Linked DNA regions of Homo sapiens: region 1 is linked to region 2. The links are contacts of gene promoters, found by promoter capture Hi-C in blood cells and fetal thymus (Javierre and others, 2016). All regions are on one chromosome and are shown on one strand. Each heading gives the region's core, a stretch centred on a gene start or on the middle of the fragment in contact. The rest is flanking DNA. Distances are from core to core; before and after follow the strand shown.

The links. Contacts are between HindIII fragments. The CHiCAGO score rates a contact against its expected background, and 5 or more counts as called.
Region 1: a contact is called between the fragment with the promoter of NUFIP2 here and the fragment with the promoter of GIT1 in region 2, in 2 of 17 cell types (endothelial precursors and fetal thymus). The highest score is 5.7, in endothelial precursors.

The regions. Positions count from the first base shown.
Region 1 is chr17:29,292,353-29,295,729 of GRCh38, forward strand. It overlaps NUFIP2 (nuclear FMR1 interacting protein 2), which reads right to left and starts at 1,796. Exons shown (of 4, transcript NM_020772.3): 1 at 1,431-1,796. The coding sequence starts at 1,707. RefSeq lists silencers at 465-644, 1,275-1,394 and enhancers at 1,101-1,861, 1,555-1,654, 1,965-2,164. The HindIII fragment of the contact is 5,437 bases long and covers 1-3,377 here.
Region 2 is chr17:29,588,119-29,591,365 of GRCh38, forward strand. GIT1 (GIT ArfGAP 1) reads right to left here and starts at 1,530. Exons shown (of 20, transcript NM_014030.4): 1 at 1,209-1,530. The coding sequence starts at 1,260. RefSeq lists enhancers at 1-711, 1,611-2,510 and silencers at 929-1,118, 1,379-1,858. The HindIII fragment of the contact is 9,256 bases long and covers 1-3,247 here.

The sequences.
Region 1 (3,377 bases), core at 546-3,045, 300 kb before region 2:
CCAAGCTCAGAAGGTAAGTGCTGGGTCGGGAGGGGAATGGAACAAGGTTTTTGGATTTTTTTTTTTTTTTTGTAGAAAATGAGCTGCTAGAAGGAAAAGGCCCAAGTGAAAGCCTCAGAGGCGGAGTCGTGAGCGAACCTGGCAGGAGACGAGGTTCCTGTGGCAGAGAAACTCGTGACCGGGGAGCTGGGTTCCCGCTGGGTACCCCACCCGGCCTCAGGCACCGCCTCTACCCGAAATGAATCCCCCCGCCGCCCCCCCAGGCCTCCTGCCTCTAGGAGCGCCGCGGCCGCCGCCCGCGGCCTCCTTCCCTCTCAGCTCCGCTTCGAGGCCGGCTCCCCGCCCCGACTGCCCGCGCCTCCCGCCGCACCCGGGAGCGGGAAACGCGGCCGCTGGCGCGCGGGGCCCTGCGCAGGCCGCTCCCCTCGTGGCCGCTTCCCTCCCCCACCCCAACCGCCCCCGCCCCTCACCCCAGGGACCCGCCCGGGGCCGCGCGCCGCCACCGGGTTACACAACCCCGGCCGGCGACGGGGGGGGGGGCGGCCGCGGTGCGGGGGGCGCCGGCGCCCCCGCAGTGCAGGGGGCGAGGCTGCGGCCGGTGGTGATCCCGGGTCACCCGGCTCCGCCGCCCCGTGTGGCCCTCGACACCCTTCCCCCTCCGCTCCTCAGTGGGCCGGAGTCGGTGACAGGAATCGGCTTCCAACATGGCGGACAGGAAGCGGCCCCGCGAGGAGGAGAGAACATTCCAGCCGCGCCGGCTCTGGGGGGAGCGGGCGCGGGGCGCCGGCCTCGGGAGGAGCCGCGGGACAAGACTGCGGGGTCCGGCGCCCAAAAAGGGCGTTTAGTGGTGGAAATGACCCGTGAGATGAGGGGTCCCAACAGCCCCCCCCACCGAGACGGGGAGCCCCAAGGCCACAGGTGGGCTTGGGGTGGCGGGTGAGGGGCACTTCCTCAACTCACCCTACCTACCCACTCCTCGCCGCCTGCAAAAGGGTCTCGCGACACCATCCGAGTCGGGATTCGCTAGGCCTTCCTGAGTTACACCTCGAGGGATTTTTTGGGGGGGTAGGTTTACCCCATCTCAGGGCCCCCAAATTGAGGTAACTCCAGGGACGCAGGGAGGTGAATGGGAAAAGAATAATGAGGTTGGACTTGCAAGGCCGACCCAGCAGGTCTCCCTTCAGCCGGGGCCGGGGCCAGGAAGGTCACGCTGGCCTGGCTGGGCCTCTCCCATGCTGGAGGGAAGGAGAGGGCGCTGCAAACCCCATTGCTCAGCCCGAGCTCTAGAATGAAAGGGGCATCCCCAGAGCCGGAGGGGACACACACACACACACCCCGACCCCGTCCGCGCTTTTCGGATCCAGCCCCACCCCCATCTCTCCTGTCCTCCACCCCCAACCCCCTTCCCCCACCCGTCCTCCCTCCCAGACCTGTTTTCTTCTTCGGCGTTTCCTGGTGCTGCTGGAGGGTGTGTTTCTGCTCATGTTTCAGCGGCTTTGGCTGGGCCTTGGGGCTGCCCTCGGCTCCATGCTGCAGGTATTGGTGAGGCTGCTGGTGATGATGGTGGTGGTGGTGGTTGTGGCTGTGGTTGTAGAAATAATAATGGTGGTGGTGGTGCGGCTGCTGCTGCTGCTGCTGAGGGTGATGGTGCGGATGGTGGTGGCTGTGATGGTGCTGAGGCTGTGGCTGGCCGGGCTTCTCCTCCATTGAAAGCGGCTGGGACTCCCTGGCTGAGGCTGCGGGCTGCTGCACCGTCAGGATCTGAGACTGCTTCTCAGGGCTCACTCAGTATATCTGAGCGCGTCTCGCCAGCGCACTGGTTAACCGAGCGATTCTGCGAGATTGGCAGCCGCACTCCAACAATCAGGAGCCACGCTGTGCCGCAAGCCCCGCCCCCAGCTCAAATCCTCTTTCCTTCCCCTTCGCCGCTGCCGCCTGGCCAACGCCACTTACCCTGTGCAACCTCACAGGGCCGGGCCTTCAACGTCAGCACTATGGCTCTCTCTTCTGTCGCTTTCTCTCCTTCACCACGCAGTCTGTGAACAGCACTTTCTACACTCCTCGCCGGCAAGCAGGCTCGTGTCGAGGGTAGCAGATTCCACTGGCGATTCCACTGGTGCTGTGAGCCATCTGCTGGCTTTGCACCTCTTAGAATCTGGTGTTTTTTTGTTTTTTGTTTTGTTTTGTTTTTAATCCTTTTCCGGGTAACCAGAAAGGGAAGCTCAATTCCCTTAACCCCGAGACCACTAAAGGGGCAATACAAAAAGAGGAAATAAATACATTTTTAAGCATACAAGAGCTTCACAATCCAGTAGATCATTTTGTATTCTGGATTCATTTTGCTTTGTATTCATATGCTAATCTCTTCCTTTCCACGAAGGGATTATAGGGTTCCACAATGGGGTATCTGTGTAATTTTCTAAAAGGGCACAAAGGGTTTAAATCATTGTTTCTTTGTAGTTGGAGGCAAGGGAGAGCAGGAGGAATGAAAATTTACACTGAAGGTTTTTTTTTTTTTAATTAAACTCTGCAGGTGAGGTCAACTGTGGAACCAAAATAGGTTTTAGAATGAGAAGTTTCAAGAGCAAAGGAAGGGGAGAAAGAGCACTTAAAAGTTATTAAGTGGGTTTGTTTTTTTTTTTTTTGGCACTTATGGAAAAATTGAAATTAAAAGAAATATTCTGTAGCGTTTTGTAGTGTAGATTTAACTTATCCTGCATTACCACATCACAGTATATGATTTTCAAAAGCAAATGTTAGAGCCATGATAGTGGTTACTCAGGAAGGAAGAGGGTTGTGATGGGGAGGGACACAGGTTACTCTGATAATATTTCATTTTGGGGGCTAGGTGGTGATTACATATATTTGCTTAGTAATTATTTGTTAAACTGAATATACAGATAAAATGCACTTTTCCCAATGTATGTTATAGATTGGGGGATTTTTTTAATTGTAAAATATTCATAATATAAAATTTACCATCTTAATATTAAGTGTATGGTTCAGGTGCATTAGGTACATTCGTATTGTTGTAGAACCATGACCATCATCTATCTCCAGAACTTTTTCATCATTCCAAACTGAAACTTCATACCCAATAAAAATAAATGTCCTTTCCCTCCTCCTTCCATCCCTTGATAACCACTGTTCTGTTTTCTGTCTCTACGAACTTGACTATTCTAGGTACCTCATATAAGTGGGATTGTACTGTATTTGTCTTTTTGTGACTAGCTTTTTTGCATAATGTCTTCAGAGTAGCATACATCAGAATTTCCCTCTTTTTTAAGGCTGACTAATATTCCATTATATGTATATACCACATTTTGTTCATTCACTCAGCAACGGACATATGGACTGTTTCCTCAATGTATGTTACG
Region 2 (3,247 bases), core at 280-2,779:
GTGAGGCTCAACCGGTGGGGTCCTGGGCCTGCTCAAGGGGTGGCTGAAAGTTATGGGCCCACAAACCAGCACCCCATACTCTCACTCTTAATCATGCCCACAGCCCCGCTAGAGTTCACGGACCTCCGCAGCCTGCCCAGGGGCCTACCAGGGAGATAGCTCCTTTGCTAAAGAAAGAATGGATGTGGGCTAGAGCTTCCTTCCCAGGCCAGCTGCAGAGCCCCGTCACTGGCTGTCCTCCCTCATCAGAAGGGAGCAGCCTCTTGGATCATTACCCCTGACTTCCTCAGCAGGCCTGGGGGGTTTCACTCCAGCCCAGTCCTAACTCTGTTAGGAAAAGGAAGGGAACCACCATGTAAATACAGCCAGGAGACAGGCCAGGAAGCCAGCAGGATACGGGGAATCTCGGCACGGCCTCCCACCCATTTCTGGCCAGACTGGGCTAGGGGACAGGGAGGGGCCCGCACCCAGGATAGCTTGATGCCAAGCTCACTTTCCCAAGCAGGCCTTACCGGTGAACAGGAACAGCAGGGTCCAGCCGAGCTGTTCCCAGTCACCACCAGCAGGCCTGGGGATGCCTCCCGAGAAGACACCCGGGTCTAGACTGGCCCTGAACGCCAGGCCCGGCAAGGAGCGCTAGCCTTAGGAACCCGAGGCAGGGAGTCCTGGGAGTAGCCACCGCTCATCTGCTCCTGAGGAGACGGTATTCAGGCCCCACTGGCGCATCTGCCCGGCCCTCTGCTCCTTGCCCTCCACCACCCCGGCAGGCGTACCGACCACGCGAGCAGCAGGTGCAAGACGCGGGGGTGGCACTGAGATGACATAAAACCACACTCGCCCCCACCTCCCAAGCCCTGACGGCCTCCGCCACGGCCCTCCTGCCACCCCAGGCTGGCGCTTCCGTCGGATACAGAGATGGAGGTGGAGGAGCAGCCAGCTGCCCGCCTCCCTCAGACCGAGGAGCGGGAGGCGGCGCCGGGAACGTCCTTCCTCGCTAGTCCACGGCCTCCAGGGAGCATGGGCACCCCAGGCCGGCCCTCCCGCCAAGGGCGCAGCTCCGCAGTGGCCGAGGCGGGGGCCCAGCCTGGAGGCCGCAGCCCCCCGCCCCGCCCAGCCCTCCGGCCCCGCACAGCGCTCTTGCCAGGCCCCGGCGCCCGCCCGGCGGCGGCCTGGCTGTGCGGTCCCGCCCCCGGCCCCGCCGCGCTTACCCGGGGCGCTGCAGTCCGCACACACCTCCGCTCGCGGCCCCTTTCGGGACATCCTCAGCGGCGACGCGGCCGCAGCCCTCTGGGCCAGCGTGGGGGGCGCGGGCGGCGGGCCCGGGCGGCGGCGGCGGCCCCTGCTGCCCGGCCCGGCTCCGGCGAGGCCCCGGCGAGGCTCCGCGCGCCCGGCCAACCGTCCGCCCCGGGGCTGGCCCGGAACCCGCCGTGCCCGCCTGCCCGCTCGCCCTCGGGCGCCCTCCGCCCCGCGCCGCCCCGCCGCCGCTCGCGGCTCCTCTCTCCGCCCCCTGCGCGGCTCCCGGCCGCTTCTGCAGGAAGCGGCGCAGGCCCTGCCCACAGGGGGAGGGGCCGCACCCCCGCCCCGCCGCGCGCTGCCGGCCGCGCCCCCTAGAGAAAGGAAGCCCGGGCGCGGGCAGGAGGGGGCGGGGGCGCTTAAAGGGGCCGCGGCAGATGCCCGGCCCCGGCGGGCAGCGTGGCCTGCGGCCCTGGCCTCCGCTGCAGCGCTCGCCTGGCCCGGAGGCAATGTGAGTCACCCTCACAGCCCCCTCCCCTTCACTTTCCGCGTGGGGTGGACCGGGGGACGCTGGGCCCACGGACGGCGAGGGTGGGGATTAGGGAAGAAGGACTTGGAGGCCCAAGTCCCGCTCCAGGTCAAAGGGGCTGTGCCTTGGGGTACCCGTCTATCTCTGGTTGGGGTGAGGTGTGCGTCCCTGTCCCGTAGGTGTCCACATCTGTGTGTCCAGGGGTGTGTGTGTATGTGTCACACTCTTGCTGAATACGCCCACTGCTAACAATATGGACGCCCAGGTGCCAGAAAGGTCAGGCAGTGTATTCCCCTGCCTCCGGACTAAAAATATATCTATCTCTCCATGCATCCTTCCATCCAGAGAGGAGAGAATCTGGGCGGTTTTTAAAGACCTCCCGAGGAGTGACCACTGTGCCTGTGTGCACTCACATCCACTTGTCATCCGCCTTACACACACCCACGGTGTTTCTGGGCCACCAGAGGTGTGTGTGTCCAGAAAGGGTGCATATAACATAGAGGGGCCGTTTCAGGTGACGGCCTTTCTTCCTGGACTTCACACGACGAGGCAGGCAAAGGCAAGGCAGGTGAGGGACGTGGGTGGGCTGGGGGGCAGGGAGCCTAGGTAGAGGCCGCACATGAGCGCAGCCCCCGCACTGAGCATGCGCCCCCATACGCGTGTGCCGCGCGTGTACCCAACCCCCAATCCCTGCAGCAGCAAAAGGCCCGGGCACTCTGCTTGTGGGGAGAGGGTAGAGGTCCCCAGGGCCAGACCTGGGGGCCAGGTCAGTGGTGACAATTGAGGAGGGGTTCTCCAAGAGTCAGAGACTCCTGCTTGTTAAGATGGGGGCAGTCCTTTGGCAGGGGTGCTCAAGTTGGTCGATTATCCCAACGGTGCCAGAGCGGCAGTGATTTGTGGGTGGGCAGGCTCCTTCCCTAGGGGAGACAAGTAATGCTCATGAGTCACACCACCCGAAATACATGCAAAGCTGCCTCCATCGCCTTTTGCTGCGGCCCAGATTGACAAGTTTGTTTGAAATCGCGATCCATGGGCTTTATTTATAATTGCACCTTAAAAAAATCTTGCAGGCCTCCCCTCCCTCGACAGCCAGCCGCTCAGCTGGTGGGGCTTTTGCAAGCAACGATACCTAGCTGGTGTGTAGGGGGGAGCACCACCTGCCGCCCCGAGCTGCTCTCTCACCAGAGTCCATGGGCTTGGTGGCCTCAGCGGGAAGGGGGTAAGGGGCGGGGGGAGTGAGACGGGAGGAGTGGCCAGGCAGCCCGTGCCAGGCGCTCAGTCCACGAGCGGTGGCCGCCCGTTCACCCCCGATCGACCCCCAGCTATGGAATTTCATTTATTAAATGTCGAGGAGGCTGCTGGCAGCCCTGCCGCTTGGCTGTCTTTGTTTCTCCGCTGTGTGGGCGCGTCTCGAGCACGTGGCAGCTGAGAGCGCGGGCCGAAGCGCAAGCGACCTGGGTTCAGTGTCTACCGCCGCCTGGCAAA